2 separate regions of the Homo sapiens genome follow, and region 2 is linked to region 1. Evidence: promoter capture Hi-C in human tissues and cell types (Jung and others, 2019). All regions are on one chromosome and are shown on one strand. Each heading gives the region's core, a stretch centred on a gene start or on the middle of the fragment in contact. The rest is flanking DNA. Distances are from core to core; before and after follow the strand shown. Region 1 holds the start of MAP1S (microtubule associated protein 1S). Region 2 overlaps ABHD8 (abhydrolase domain containing 8).

What was found. The method cuts DNA at HindIII sites, captures the fragments that hold promoters and counts their contacts. A contact is called where the count stands out against the background at its distance.
Region 2: a fragment that was not itself captured here is called in contact with the fragment with the promoter of MAP1S in region 1 in 1 of the 25 tissues and cell types used here (dorsolateral prefrontal cortex).

What each region holds. Positions count from the first base shown.
Region 1 is chr19:17,714,438-17,722,189 of GRCh38, reverse strand. It overlaps MAP1S (microtubule associated protein 1S), which reads right to left and starts at 2,710. Exons shown (of 7, transcript NM_018174.6): 1 at 2,570-2,710; 2 at 1,153-1,254. The coding sequence starts at 2,687. RefSeq lists enhancers at 1,519-1,668, 2,059-2,128, 4,179-4,680 and a silencer at 2,479-2,528. The HindIII fragment of the contact is 7,935 bases long and covers 2,328-7,752 here.
Region 2 is chr19:17,295,059-17,302,810 of GRCh38, reverse strand. ABHD8 (abhydrolase domain containing 8) reads left to right here. Exons shown (of 5, transcript NM_024527.5): 2 at 1,187-1,955. The coding sequence starts at 1,195. It also overlaps a transcript of MRPL34 not described here. Among named protein-coding and RNA genes, the nearest start is that of ABHD8, 4.5 kb to the left of the region's middle. RefSeq lists a silencer at 197-491 and enhancers at 849-1,349, 1,350-1,850. The HindIII fragment of the contact is 7,858 bases long and covers 1-5,951 here.

The sequences.
Region 1 (7,752 bases), core at 1,461-3,960:
GAGAGCCACCCCACCCAGCCTTAGCACGCTTTTTGCCACACAGGGATATTGCCCCATTCAGGTGGGGAAATCAAGGCATAAAGAAGGGAAGTGGCCACGAAGTTCACACACAGCAGACAGGATTTCCAGCTCCACTTTCTGCCCCATGAAGTGTCAGGAAGCCACAAGGACCAACTGGGACAATGAGACTACAGACACTTCCTTCCTCTCCAGCAGCAGCCGGGAGGTGACTCAAGAGACCATCAGGAGCCGGGGGCGGCTGCAGGCAACACCCAAGCCCTGCCTGCCCGCCTGCTGCTCTGCTCACCCTGGGTCACCCTAGAAGGGAGCCTCGTGCTGAGTTGGGCCCTTCTTGATCTCACTCCTTTTCAGTTCCCTGCCTACTGTATACCCAGGCCTGTGGCTGTGAACCAGTATCAGTCCCTTCCTGCAAGGGGCCCACACTCCATCTTCCAGGGCCTGCTCAGTGCCCCTCCACCTTCCAGATGTTTTTTGTTTGTTTGTTTGTTCTGAGACAGAGTCCCTCCCACTCTGTCACTCAGGCAGGAGTGCAGTGGCGCAGTCTCAGCCCCACTGTAACCTCTGCCTCCTGGGTTCATGTGATCCTCCCACCTCAGCCTCCCGAGTAGCTGGGATTAGAGGCGCCTGCCACCATGCCGTTATTTTTGTATTCTTAGTAGAGACAGGGTTCCTCCACGTTGGCCAGGCTAGTCTCCAACTCCTGACCTCAAGTGATCCGCCCGCTGCGGCCTCCCAAAGTGCTGAGATCAGAGGCGTAAGCCACCGCGCCCGGTTCATTCTAGATGTTCTGTCCACTGCTGGGTCTTGACTGGGGCCCTTCCCTTCCACTGGACACACCAGTCATAGCAGTTTCTCATCAAAAAACCCCCTCCTCAGAGATCTCCCTGCCTCTTCCCCCTTCAATGCCAATTTCCTCATCTGTCAATCAGGGACAAAAACACCAGTTCCTGCACTGTGGGTTGCTGAGGACTGAGGGGGTTATCACTGGGTCACGGCTTGCATTTGAAAGGTCTCAACTGTATTATTACTGTTGTTATTTATAGCTGCATCCCACCCCCCATGCCTGGCACACGGCTGGCACTTCCCCAAATAACAAGAGGTAGGGAGCAGTCAGGGGGACCCCAGCCTCACCTTTCACAATGCTGGAGAAGGTGGCAGAGTGTCGGGACACAAAGACCTTGAGCTGTTCATCAAGGTTGCAGACGCCAGGATCGACATCCCAAGACCGGATGCCTGGTGGGAAGGAGGGATCAAGGCGGGAGTTCAGCCGGGCCCCCCAGCTCCCAGAATATTTCAATAATTAGCACCCCGTGGGTGGGGAGCGCCCCAGCCTCCTCCCTTCACTCACAGCTTGGAGACTCAGAAGTACCCAACACCTTCAGGTCTCGCTGCAGCTGAGCCAGGGGACCCAGAGCACACCTCATCATTTTACACACAAGATTCATCAGCAACAAAGCCTCCACCTCCTCCATCTCCACCTCCTCGCTGCTCCTATGCCCTGCCAGACCCGTTTCCACTCACCGCCCTTGCAACAGCTGTTTCCCCTGCCTGGAAGTCCATCCCCCTGCCGCCCCCACCTGTTCCTACTGGCCAGGGGGCCCTTCCCCCTCAGCACCTTCGGGTGCTAAGACTGACTGTCCTCTCAGTCCCTTGCAGCCTTCTCATCCTTCCTGACACCATGTGAGCTGGAAGCTTGTTCCATCTCCTCACTCGCTTTGGGTCCATCCCCAAACCAGACCTGTGTTGGCAGGGCTGAACCTGTCTATCATCCCGGCCATATCCCTGTGTCCACTGCCCAAAGGCCTGGCGCATAGCAGGTGCTCACTAAACACTCCTCAAGCACATGAACCGAGGTGCGTGTTCCTGTCCCATTTTACATGCAATGAAACGCCAGGTCCAGATGCTCCGAGGGATGGGGGATGAACACCCATCTCCACCCACGGGCGCATCACGCCCGCCAGTCCCACTGAGCCAAGTGGCTGCAGGTGAACCTGGCAGGTGCGCCTATGACTCACCTCCCTAGGTGCCAAATCCCCAGGGCAGGCCGCACCCGCCCACACCCCAATTAGCAGCTCCTTGTGAGGCAACAGAAAGCGGGCCCCGGGGCTCCAGGCCCAGCCTCCCCCATATCTGCTTCTCCCTCCGGGAGATCTCTATCTAAGCTGCTAAGACCTGGAGATCCAAAGCGACCCCAGGCCCTACCCCCGGGCAGGCCAGTCAGGCGGGAAGCGGAGCCGTGGTCCAACTGCAAGGGTCCCCAAGCCCAGGCCCGTGTCCCCTCCCCTATCTTCACCCGGAGTTGGGGCGGGGCAGCCCTGCCCAGCCCAGGCCCGGATGCCACTTTCTCCGCGGGCACCCACGGGCACCCCGCCTTTGCCCGCGTCGTGCGCCTAACGGTGAAGGGGACCCAGCCCCAGGCCCGCGACCCCCGCCCCGGAGCCCGGGTCCCGCCGCCGCCGCCGCCGCCGCCCCACCCCGCCGGCCCCGGGCCCAGACGCGCGAACGGGCCCGCCTCCCGGGCTCCCGCGGGCCCCCAGGCCAGCCCGACCTCTTTCGAGCTCCTCCAGGACGTAGGTGAGGAGCCCCGGGCTCCCGAACTCGCTGCCCACCACGAGGAGCAGTGAGCTCGGAGCCGCGGCAGCCCCAGATCCAGCCACCGCCGCCATCTTCGGGCCGCCCCGGCGTTCTCGGCGCCCGCCCCGCAGGCCCCGCCTCTTAAAGGGGCCGCACCGGAAGGGCTGAAGACCCCGCCCGGAACCACCGCATCCCCGCCCCTTTTTGTCGACCACTTACAGGCCCTTTGAGGTCGTGGAGAGCAGGGGATGCGGGCGTTAAAGGGGTTGGCCGACTCCTGGGTGTCCGCTTGGGAGCCGCCTCTCCCAAGTGACCATTCATTCATTTTTTTTTTCATTGAACAAGCTTTGATTGCGTGCCTGCTGCATGTAGGTCAGAACTCCTGCCCTCCAGGAACTCACATCACATGACAGTAGGCCGCATCAGAACCCGGTGCCTATGGATGCTCCCAGCTCTCTAGGTCAGGGCTTGAACAGAGAAAAGAAATCTATCTTGTAGGTAGGGCTTTAAGGGATGTGTAGGAGTTTGCCTTGTGGGTGGTGGGGCAAGAGCTGGTGAGGCAGAAGTTTACAGCAGGTGCAAAGTTTTAGAGGTAAGAAAGTACATGTGTGTTTGGGACACAACCGGAGCACTCTGGGCCTGCCTGGAACAGGGCAACACTTATTCTGCACCTCCTGTGCGCCAGGTATTTTATTGCATTAGCTCATTACATACAAGCACAAAGCGATGAGTTTTGTGCTTGTATGTAGGCACAGATGAGTAGGCACAGTTACTGTGGTCACTTTCAGAGGAAAGAAGAGGAAACTGAGATTTGGAGGGATGAAGTCACCAGGCCTGTAAGTGGTAGAGCAGGTTTGAACCCAAGTGGGTCTTACTCTAGATCCAGCCTGTGCAAGGGACTGCCTGCGTTGCGCACATGGGTACCTCTCTCTCCCCAGATAATCCTCTTTAGGCTTTTCTTTCCTTTCCTCCCCTCTCTTCTCCTCTCCTCCCCTCCCCTCCTCTCCTCTTCTCCCCTCCCCTCCCCTTCTCTCCCCTCTCCTCTCCTCTCCTCCCCTCCCCTCCCTTCCTCTCCCTCCCCTCCCCTCCCCTCCTCTCCCCTCTCCTCTCCTCTCCTTTCCTTTTCTTGAGATGGAGTCTCATTCTGCCGCCCAGGCTGGAGTGCAATGGCACAATCTCAGCTCACTGCAACCTCTGCCTCCCGGGTTCAAGCGATTCCCTTGCCTCAGCCTCCCAAGTAGCGGGATTATAGGTGTCCGCCACCATGCCCTGCTAATTTTTGTATTTTAGTAGAGATGAGGTTTCTTTTCTTTTCTTTTCTTTTCTTTTCTTTTCTTTTCTTTTCTTTTCTTTTCTTTTAGAGACAGAGTCTCGCTCTGTCGCCCAGGCTGAAGGGTAGTGGCGCGATCTCGGCTCACTGCAAGCTCCACCTCCCAGGTTCATGCCATTCTCCTGCCTCAGCCTCCCGAGTAGCTGGGACTACAGGCGCCCGCCACTGTGCCCAGCTAATTTTTTGTATTTTCAGTAGAGACGGGGTTTCACCGTGGTCTCGATCTCCTGACCTCGTGATCTGCCTGCCTCGGCCTCCCAAAGTGCTGGGATTACAGGCGTGAGCCACCGTGCCCGGCAGAGATGGGGTTTCACCATGTTGGCCAGGCTGGTCTCGAACTCCTGACCTCAAGTGATCCTCCTGCCTTGGCCTCCCAAAGTGCTGGGATTACAGGCGTGAGCCGCCGCGCCTGGCCCCCTTTAGCCCTTTGACCCATAGGGGCTACTACTTGACAAATCATCTTGCTTGGAACTTCTGGACAGTGGTCCATGCCCAGGAAACATTGAACCTCCTTTCTCAGGAGTGAGCTCCCTGTCTCCGGGAGTATGCAAAGAAAAGCAGAACAGAAATGGGAAAGATCTGGGAAGGCGAATCAGCCTCCCGCTGCCGTTTATTATCTAGGTTGTTCAGCCCAACTTCCTCCCTGGCCAGTGTGTAACAGCCACTGGCCACGTGCCGTCTACCATTCTTGCACTCCACTTCCTCTCTCTCTTTTTGGTTCTGGCATCCTTCCTCTATCCTTGTCCCTCCCCCTTGGCTCCCTTCCCTGTGTCTCGCCTGCCTGTGATTTCTTCTGTTATTGCTGTGAGCAGTAATAGTAGTGGGAGTGTCTGTGTCGGGCACTATCTCCCCTATAAGGCTGGAAACTTTTGGAAGCCTGAGGCCTCTCTGGGGCCCTGGCCTTGTGCAACACAAGGCTTGGGCATCTGAGAAGGGATATGATAAAGTCTTTTGGAATGGGCTGAAAGGCCTATTTGTCCACTATTCCTTCCTTCCTTCCTTCCTTGTGTATTTATGGATGGGTCCAGGATTCGAACCCAGGAGCTTCTGAATGGAAGTCTATCCACTTCCTTCTGCCCACGCTGTGAATTATGATTGTTGGTACTAATTCTTTTTTTTCTTTCTTTTTTTTTTTTTTGAGACGGATTCTCACTCTGTCGCCCTTGCCAGAATCATTCTGAGAGAGAGAGAGAGAGTCTTGTTCTGTCAAGCAGGCTAGGTTGGAGCACAGTGGTGTAACCTCGGCTCACTGCAAGCTCCGCCTCCCGGGTTCAAGGGATTCTCCTGCCTCAGCCTCCTGAGTAGCTGGGATTACGGTACCCACCACCATGCCTGGCTAATTTTTGTATTTTTAGTAGAGACATGGGGTTTCACCATGTTGGCCAGGATGGTCTCGAACTCCTGACTTCAAGTAATCTGCCCCACTTGGCCTCCCAAAGTGCTGAGATTATAGGTATGGGCCACTGCACCGGCCTGTTGGTATTAATTCTATTACTAGTTGGTCTTACAGGGCCTGAAGAAATGTCTCCACTAGGGGGATCTGATTTGGGGATGAAGGTCTCCCCCATTAGGTTTTTGGGAGATAATGTCCTGAGTACTTGGAGCCATGAGGTCTTCCTGTCCCAAAGCATTTCCCAAGCTTGAGGACTCTGGTGTGGGACATGTGGGGTGCATTTCCCTAGAAACTGAGAAGCCTCTGAGACCACTGCTCAAATCCCAGGCATGGGACTCTGGTCTCTGGTTTCTGGCCCAGCTCCATGACTGTTTCAAGGTCACCATCCCCAGAGGCGTCAGATGATGGCATTTGTGGGGAAAACGGAACCCTGAGCCCTCAGGACTGCTGGATATTCTCATCTTCTCCTGGCAATTATTTTCTTATTTTAACAGTTTTGTTGAGGTTTAATATAGACATGGTCAGGCTGGGTGTAGTAGCTCACACCTGTAATCCCAATATTTTGGGAGGCTGAGACAGGCGGATCACTTGAGGTCAGGAGTTTGAGACCAGCCCGGCCAACATGGTGAAACTCCGTCTCTACTAAAAATACAAAAATTAGCCAGGTGTGGTTGTGGGCTATTCAGGAGGCTGAGGTGGGAGGATCACTTGAGTCTGGGCTGTGGAGATTGCAGCGAGCTGAGATCACGCCACTGCACTCCAACCCAGCCTGCTTGACAGAATGAGTCTCTCTCTCTCTCTCTCTCTCTCTATCTACAGTGGTGTGATCTCGACTCACTACAACCTCTGCCTCCCAGGTTCAAGTGATTATCCTGCTCCAACCTCCCAAGTAGCTGAGATTACAGGCACCTGCCACCATGCCCAGGAAGTTTTGTGTTTTTAGTAGAGACGGGATTTCACCATGTTGGCCAGGCTGGTCTTGAACTCCCGGTGTCAGGCCAGCCTTGGCCTCCCAAAGTGCTGGGATTACAGGCATGAGCCACCGTGCCCGGCCTTTTTTTTTTTTTTTTTTTTTAAGACAGGGTCTCATTCTATCACCCAGGCTGAGGTGCACTGGCTTGATCTCAGCTCACTGCAACCTTGACCTTCAGGGCTCAAGAGATCCTCCCACCTCAGCCTCCCAAGTATCTGGGACTACGGGTGTGCGCCGCCATGCCTGGCTAATGTTTTGTATATTTTGTAGAGATGGCATCTCCTTGTTGCCCAGGATGCTCTCAAACTCCTAGGCTTAAGAGATCCACCTTGACCTCCCAAAGTGCTGGGATTACAGGGTCAGGTTACCCAGGCTGGAGTGCAGTGGCACAATCTCAGCTCACTACAACCTCTGCCTCCAGGGCTCAAGCAGTCCTCCCACCTCAGCCTCCTGACTAGCTGGGACAACAGGTGCAGGCCACCTCTGCTGGCTAATTTTTGTATGTTTTGTAGAGATGGGATTTTGCCGTATTGCCCAGGCTGGTCTCAAACTCCTGAGCTCAGGTGATCCACCTGCCTCAGACTCCCAAAGTGCTGGGATTACAGGCATGAGCCACTGCACCCGGCCTCCATTTTAACCATTTTACAGTGTACAAATCAGTGACATTTAGTGCATTTACAACGTCCTGCCACCCTCGCTAATATCTAGTTCCGGAATACTTTCATCCTCTTAAAAAGAAACTCTGTCCTAGGGCGGGCATGGTGGCTCATGCCTGTAATCCCAGCACTTTGGGAGGCAGAGGCAGGAAGATCCATTGAGCCCAGGAATTCAAGACCAGGCTGGACAGCATAAGGAAACCCTATCGCTCTATTCGGAATTTTTTTTTTTTTTTTTTTTGAGAAGGAGTCTTGCTTTGTCACCCAGGCTGCAGTGCAGTGGCACCATCTCAGCTCACTGTAACCTCTGCCTCCCAGGTGCAAGCAATTCTCCTGCCTCAGCCTCCTGAGTAGCTGGGATTACAGACATGCACCACCACGCCTGGCTATTTTTTTTATTTTTAGTAGAGACAGGGTTTCGCCATGTTGGCCAGGCTGGTCTTGAACTCCTGATCTCAGGTGATCCACCCACCTCAGCCTCCCAAAGTGCTGGGATTACAGGTGTGAGCCACTGTGCCTAGCCTATAATTTTTTAAATAAAAATTGAAAAAAAAAAAAGAAAATAAATGCTATCCTCAACAGCAGTAACTCCCTATTATGCACTCCCCCCCGCAGTCCCTCACAACCACAAATCAGCTTTCTGTCCTAAGGATTTGCCCACTCTAGGCATTTCAGGCAGTAAGTGGCCTTTTGCAGCTGGCTTCCTTCACACAGCATAATGTTTTCCAGCTTCACCCACGTTGTATCTTGTGTCAGTACGTTATTCCCTTTTTATGGCTGAATCATATTCCTGTATATGGATGAG
Region 2 (7,752 bases), core at 773-3,272, 420 kb after region 1:
TGGTTGCCATGGACACGGGGGCGGGGGTGGCCCAAGGAGTGGGATGGAGGCTTGGAGGCCCCCAGCCAGGGCCCTGCCTCTCCCATCCTCTTCGCCACCTCTGGGGACTTGTATAGCAGATCCCCAGAATCCAGGGTGCCAAGGAGGAAGTTCAGAGTCTAGCTTCCTCTCAGAGTGTCTGGGCCTCAGCTTGGCCCTCTATGAAACAGACCCCGGCTCACCCCGGTCTAGGGGAGCTGAGCAAGGCTTTCTGTGGCTCAGTCCCCATCCCCCTCTCCTAGGGCCTCACCTTTCAGGAGTCAAATTCAGAGCCAGGAGCCTCACTGGGGGCTCACCAAAGATTTGCATATTTTAGATGCCTTAGGAGGCCCTGGGGATATGTGAGTTAGTGAGTGCATACCTGGATGAGTTAGTGAGTTAGTGTATACCTGAATGAATGAGTTAGTGTATACCTGAATGGATGAGTTAGTGTATACCTGAATGAATGAGTTAGGAGGCCATAAATGGTATAAACTCCAGCTGGGGGGAGGGGGTGTCTTCCGGCTGGTCCACATTTGCCACAATGTCCCCTTCTCCAGGAACATCCCCACACAAGACGCCACCACCTTCCCTGTGGACACCCTGTGGGGTAAGCCATAGCCAAGTCTTTCTCTCTGAGGATAGACTAGGGTGACCCAGGAGGGTAACTACCACAAAGGCACTGCTCAGACAAAACATGTCAGTGCACGGTGGCTCACACCTATAATCCCAGCACTTTGGGAGGCCGAAGCAGGAGGAAAATTTGAGGTCAGGAGTTCAAGACCAGCCTGGCCAACATGGTGAAACCCCATCTCTACAAAAAATACAAAAATTAGCTAGACATGGTGGCACCTGCCTATAATCCCAGCTACTCAGGAGGCTGAGGCAAGAGAATCGCTTGAACCCAGGAGGGGGAGGTTGCAGTAAGCCGAAATCCGGCCACTGCCCTCCAGCCTGGATGACAAAGCGAGACTGTCTCAAAAACACACACACACACACACACACACACACACACAAACAAAAAAATCTCAGTGCCGTGGCTCACTTGATCTGGCGCTCCCCAAACTGGAGTCTAAAACAGTTCTCCCAAGGCTCAGGGAGTGCCTGCTGCACGGTGCAGGGTTCTCATTGAGACAGCACCTGAACTGGCTGCTGTCCTCACTCACAGGACACACCATGCTGACCGGGGTGACCGACGGTATCTTCTGTTGCCTGCTGGGCACGCCCCCCAACGCCGTGGGGCCACTGGAGAGCGTCGAGTCCAGCGATGGCTACACCTTTGTAGAGGTCAAGCCCGGCCGCGTGCTGCGGGTGAAGCATGCAGGACCCGCCCCAGCCGCTGCCCCACCTCCACCATCATCCGCATCCTCGGATGCAGCCCAGGGGGACCTCTCCGGCTTGGTCCGCTGTCAGCGCCGGATCACCGTGTACCGCAATGGGCGGTTGCTGGTGGAAAACCTGGGCCGAGCCCCTCGAGCCGACCTCCTACACGGGCAGAATGGCTCTGGGGAGCCGCCGGCCGCCCTGGAGGTGGAGCTGGCAGATCCGGCGGGCAGCGATGGCCGCTTGGCCCCCGGCAGCGCAGGCAGCGGCAGCGGCAGTGGCAGTGGTGGGCGGCGGCGGCGAGCCAGGCGCCCCAAGAGGACCATCCATATTGACTGTGAGAAGCGCATCACTAGCTGCAAAGGCGCCCAGGCCGACGTGGTGCTCTTTTTCATCCATGGTGTCGGCGGTTCCCTGGCCATCTGGAAGGAGCAGCTGGACTTCTTTGTGCGCCTAGGCTATGAGGTGGTGGCTCCTGACCTGGCCGGCCACGGGGCCAGCTCTGCGCCCCAGGTGGCCGCAGCCTACACCTTCTATGCGCTGGCTGAGGACATGCGAGCAATCTTCAAGCGCTATGCCAAGAAGCGAAATGTGCTCATTGGCCATTCCTACGGGTAAGTGAACCCTGGCATGTGGGGTGGGGGTGAGGGATGGGGTCAGCAGGGACTACAGTCACAAAATACTGAGTTTTTGGCTGAGCCCCGTGGCTCACGCCTGTAATCCCAGCACTTTGGGAGGCCGAGGCAGGCGGATCACCTGAGGTTGGGAGTTCGGGAACAGTCTGGCCAAGGTGGTGAAACCCCGTCTCTACCAAAAATACAAAAATTAGCCAGACGTGGTGGCACGCGCCTGTAGTCCCAGCTACTCGGGAGGCTGAGGCAGAGGAATCACTTGAACCGAGGAGGTGGAGGTTGCAGTGAGCCGAGATTGTGTCACTGCACTCCAGCCTGGGCGACAGAGGGAGACTCTGAGATGCCACTGACACCTGTAATCCCAGTGCTTTCGGGGGCCAAGGCGGGAGGATATCTTGAGGCAAGGAGTTTGAGACCAGCCTGGGCAACATAGGGAGAACCCCCTAGCTCTACAAAAAGTACAAACATTAGCTAGGTGAGGAGGTGCACGCATATAGTTCCACCTACTTAAGGGCTGAGGCAGGAGATTGCTTGAGTCTGGGAGGTCGAGGCTGCAGTGAACTGTGATCACACCACTGCACTCCAGCCTGGGCAGCATGGCAAGAACCTGTCGCTCTTTAAAAAAGAAAAAAAAATCCGGGCGCGGTGGCTCACGCCTGTAATCCCAGCACTTTGGGAGGCTGAGGCGGGCGGATCACGAGGTCAGAAGATTGAGACCATCCTGGCTAACACGGTGAAACCCTGTCTCTACTAAAAATACAAAAAATTAGCTGGGTGTGGTGGTGGGCACCTATAGTCCCAGCTACTCGGGAGGCTGAGGCAGGAGAATGGCATGAGCACGGGAGACGGAGCTTGCAGTGAGCCAAGATCATATTGTGCCACTGCACTCCAGCCTGGGCGACAGAAGGAGACTCCGTCATGAAAAAAAAAAAAGGGGCCACCACGCGCGGTGGTGCACATTTGTAATCCCAGCACTTTGTGGATGGATCATTGGAGATGAGTTTGGACAACATGGCAAAACCTTATCTCCTAAAACAAAACAAAGCAAACAAAAATCCTAATTTTTCTCCTTGAAAAAAATCCCATTTTTCAATTTAATTTTTACATTTTTAAAATTTTTTTTTCTTTTAAATAGAGATGGCATCTCACTATGTTGCCCAAGATGTTCTTTAACTACTGGGCTCAAGTGATCCTTGCACCTCAGCCTCCCAAAGTGCTAGGACTACAGGTGTGAGTCATTGTGCTCAGCCTTAATTTTTTTTTTTTTTTTTTTTTTTGAGATGGAGTCTCACTCTGTCCCCCAGGCTGGAGTGCAGTGGCGTGATCCTGGCTCACTGCAAGCTCCACCTCCCAGGTTCATGCCATTCTCCTGCCTCAGCCTCCCTAGTAGCTGGGACTACAGGCACCCGCTACCATGCCTGGCTAATTTTTTGTCTTTTTAGTACAGACGGGGTTTCACCGTGTTAGCCAGGATGGTCTCGATCTCCTGACCTCGTGATTCGCCCTCCTCGGCCTCCCAAAGCGCTGGGATTACAGGCGTGAGCCAACGCACCAGGCCAATTTTCAAGTTCAAAAAAAAATTATATAGAGAATGGGGGGGGGGTCTCATTATGTTGCCCAGGCTGGTCTTGAACTCCTGGGCTCAAGCCATCCTCCCTCCTTGGCCTCCCGATGTGGTGGGGTAACAGGCATGAGCCGCTATACCAGGCTGAAAACTCCCATTAGCATATGTAATCAGACAGGGATTTCCGTCATCACTGATATTGTTTCACATTGTTCTAAAGCAGTGTTGCTCAGGCCAGGTGCAGTGGCTTACGCCTGTAATCCTAGCACTTTAGGAAGCCAAAGCAGGCAGATCACTTGAGGTCAGGAGTTCAACACCAGTTTGGCCAACATGGTGAAACCCCATCTCTACTAAAAGTACAAAAAATTAACCAGGCATGATGGTGTGTGCCTGTAATCCCAGCTACTCGGGGGTGTGAGGCAGGAGAATCACTTGAACCTGGGAGGCAGAGGTTGCAGTGAGCCAAGATCACACCACTGCACTCCAGCCTGAGCAACAGAGTGAGACTCTGCCCAAAAAAAAAAAAAAAAAAAAAAAAGCAGTGTTGTTCAATCCCAGCACTATCGTGTTTGGCCAGGTTATTTTTTTTCTGTGAGGGGCTATAGGATGTTTAGTAGCATCCCTGGCTTCTGCCCACTGGATGCAACTACACAATCTAGTGTTGATCATGACAGTCAAAAATGTCTTCAGTAGTTGCCAAGCGTGCCCTGGTGGGCAGAATTACCCCCAGCTGAGAACCACTGCCTTAGACTAAGTTAAAAAATCAACTGCCCTGGAGAACACTGTGCATTCAGGAAGCGCTCATCGGAATCCTGTAAATTCTAGGCATTTACAAAGGCATGGGTTACTGTAATTCACTCCTGCTTAAAGGGCAGGTAATACAACCTAAAACTTACCAAGAACCCCTCCATGGAAGGCTTGGTCCCCAGGGCTTGACCACTACCAAGTGGCCTCATTCTCTCCTTTATCCAGGAAGAAAGGCAAGATTGAACAGCCAGGCAAGTTGAGCACCACTGTTTTAGAGATTCTAGCCTATGCAATTAGACAAGAAAAAAAGGCCAGGCGTGGTGGCTCACACCTGTAATCCCAGCAATTTGGGAGGCCGAGGCGGGCGGATCAGGAGGTCAGGAGATCAAGACCATCCTGGCTAACACGGTGAAACCCCGTCTCTACTAAAAAATACAAAAAAAAATTAGCCAGGCATGGTGGCAGGCGCCTGTAGTCCCAGCTACTCAGGAGGCTGAGGCAGGAGAATGGCGTGCACCCAGGAGGTGGAGCTTGCAGTGAGCCGAGATTGTGCCACTGCACTCCAGCCTGGGTGACAGAGTGAGACTCCATCTCAAAAAAAAAAAAAAAGAAAAAAGAAAAATAAATAAGTGGCCAGGTGTGGTGGCTTACACCTATAATCCCAACACTTTGGGAAGCTGAGGTGGGAGGACTGCTATAGCTGAGGAGTTCAAGACCAACCTGGGCAACATAAGCAAGATCTCATCTCTACAAAAAACTAAAAAGTAAAAAAAAAAAAAAAAGAAAAGAAAACAAAGAAGTTACATAAGTATCTAAAAGAAAGGAATCTAGACTGAGAGGTAACAGCTCTTATTTGTTTATATTTCTTTATATAACATACTCAAAAGTTGATGCTTATGAGAAATGATTCCTCTAATTAAATGAGCACCCACCTGCTGGGCACAGTGGTTCACACCTGTAATCCCAGAACTTTTGGAGGCCGAGGCAGGCGGATCACAAGGTCAGGAGTTCAAGACCAGCCTGGCCAAAATGGTGAAACCCCGTCTCTAATAAAAATACAAAAAGTAGCTGGGTATGGTTGCAGGTGCCTATAATCCCAGCTACTTGGGAGGCTGAGGCAGGATAATCATTCGAACCCATGAGGTGGGGGTTGCAGTGAGCCGAGATCGCACCATTGCACTCCAGCCTGAGTGACAGAGCAAGACTCTGTCTCGAGAAAAAAACAAAAAAACAAAAAAAACACCCACCTACAATAGTTCCCATGACCCCATAACAGTGCTATTAGGTCAGCACATTTACAACTTCAGGAATGTGGAGGCTGAAGCTCAGAGAGGTGAAGCAACCTGCCCAAAGGCATACAGGAAGTCCCTGACACAATCAGGTCTGCCTGACTCCTGTCTGTATCCTTTCCTCATTACAGCAGGGGCTGGCAAACATTTCCTTAAAGGATCGGATAGCGAATATTTTAGGTTTGCAGGCCATACAGTCACTGTTGGAACTTCTGATAAAACTTTATTTAGGAAACATTTTTTGGCCAGGCACGGTGGCTCACGCCTCTAATCCCAGCACTTTGGGAGGCCAAGGTGGGCAGATCACCTGAGGTCGGGAGTTCAAGACCAGCCTGACTAACACGGTGAAACCCCGTCTCTACTAAAAATACAAAAATTAGCCGGGCATAATGGCAGATGCCTGTAATCCCAGCTACTCGGGAGGCTGAGACAGGAGAATCACTTGAACCCGGGAGGCGGAGGTTGCAGTGAGCCGAGATCGCGCCACTGTGCTCCAGCGTGGGCAACAGAGCAGGACTCCATCTCAAAAAAAAAAAAAAAAACCTTATTTAGGAAACATTTTTCAAATCTCCAAAAGTGTAAACTGTATTTAAAAAAGCAAATGACTAGCCCACAGGCCGTACATAGTTTGTTGACCCCTGCTTTTGTAGGAATGAGGAGCTCAGCTTTGGGGGCTTCTCAGGCCTTCCATCTTGTATAAGGAAGACAGATATGTCATGCCCAGAGGCAGGTGGCAGAACATCCTGAAAGGGAAGGGATAGTAGGAAACAGTGACCTCCCCTGGGCAGCCGGAAGCATTTGTTTAATCAGATTGCTTTCCTACCACTTGCTGATGAGTAATTCTTACCGCTTTTGGGTCATGGTGGCTTGAAGAATCTGATGAGGGCCGGGCACAGTGGCTCATATCTATAATCTTAACACTTTGGAAGGCCAAGGTGGAAGGATCACTTGAGCCCAGAAGTTCAAGACCAGCCTGGGCAACATAGTGAGACCCCCATCTCTACAAAAATTTTAAACAATTAAAATAAAAAGTCTGGTGAAACTTCTGGATCCAGATTCTCTCTTCAAAATAAGTTCCATCCTCAACACTCAAACTCACACTTTCACGGTATTTGAGAGGCCGCACTCATCCCTCACCCCTTCAGGTGTCCATGGACCCCAGGGGAAGAATCTTGGCTTCCAAGGACCTGCCTTCTGGGTAGGGGGAGGACATGAACCCCCTCACCAGGCCGGGTGTCACGGCTCACGCCTATAATCCCAGCACTTTGGGAGGTTAAGGCCAGAGGATCACTTGAGCCCAGGAGTTCAAGACCAGCCTGGGCAACATAAGGAGACCCTGTCTTTATAAAAAAATTTTTAAAAATTAGCTGAGCATGGTGGCACATGCCTGTAGTCCCAGCTATTCAGAAGGCTGAGGTGGGAGGATCTCTTGAGCCCAGGAAGTCAAGGCTGCAGGGAGCTATGATTACGCCACCGCACCACTCCAGCCTAGGCGACAGCGAAACCTTGTCTCAAAAACAAAAACAAAACAGGCCAGCCCAGTGGCTCATGCCTGTAATCCCCGCACTTTGGGAAGCCAAGGTGGGTGGATCACTTGAGGTCAGGAGTTCTCGACCAGCCTGAGCAACATGCTGAAACCCTGTGTCTACTAAAAAATACAAAAATTAGCCAGGTGTGGTGGTGCATGCCTGTACTCCCAGCTACTCGGGAGGCTGAGGAAGGAGAATCAGTTGAACCCAGGAGGCAGAGGTTGCAGTGAGCTGAGATTGCATCACTGTACTCCAACCTGGGCAACAGAATGAGACTCCATCTCAAAAACAAAAACAAACCAGGCCAGGCGCAGTGGCTCAGGCCTGTAATCCCAGCACTTTGGGAGGCCGAGGCGGATGGATCACTTGAGGTCAGGAATTTGAGACCAGCCCGACCAACATGGTGAAACCCCATCTCTACTAAAAATACAAAAAATTAGCCGGGCGCGGTGGCGGGCGCCTGTAGTCCCAGCTACTCGGGAGGCTGAGGCAGGAGAATGGCGTGAACCCGGGAAGCGGAGCTTGCAGTGAGCCGAGATTGCGCCACTGCAGTCCGCAGTCCGGCCTGGGCGACAGAGCGAGACTCCGTCTCAAAAAAAAAAAAAAAAAAAAAAAAAATTACCTGGGTGTGGTGGTGTGCGCCTGCAATC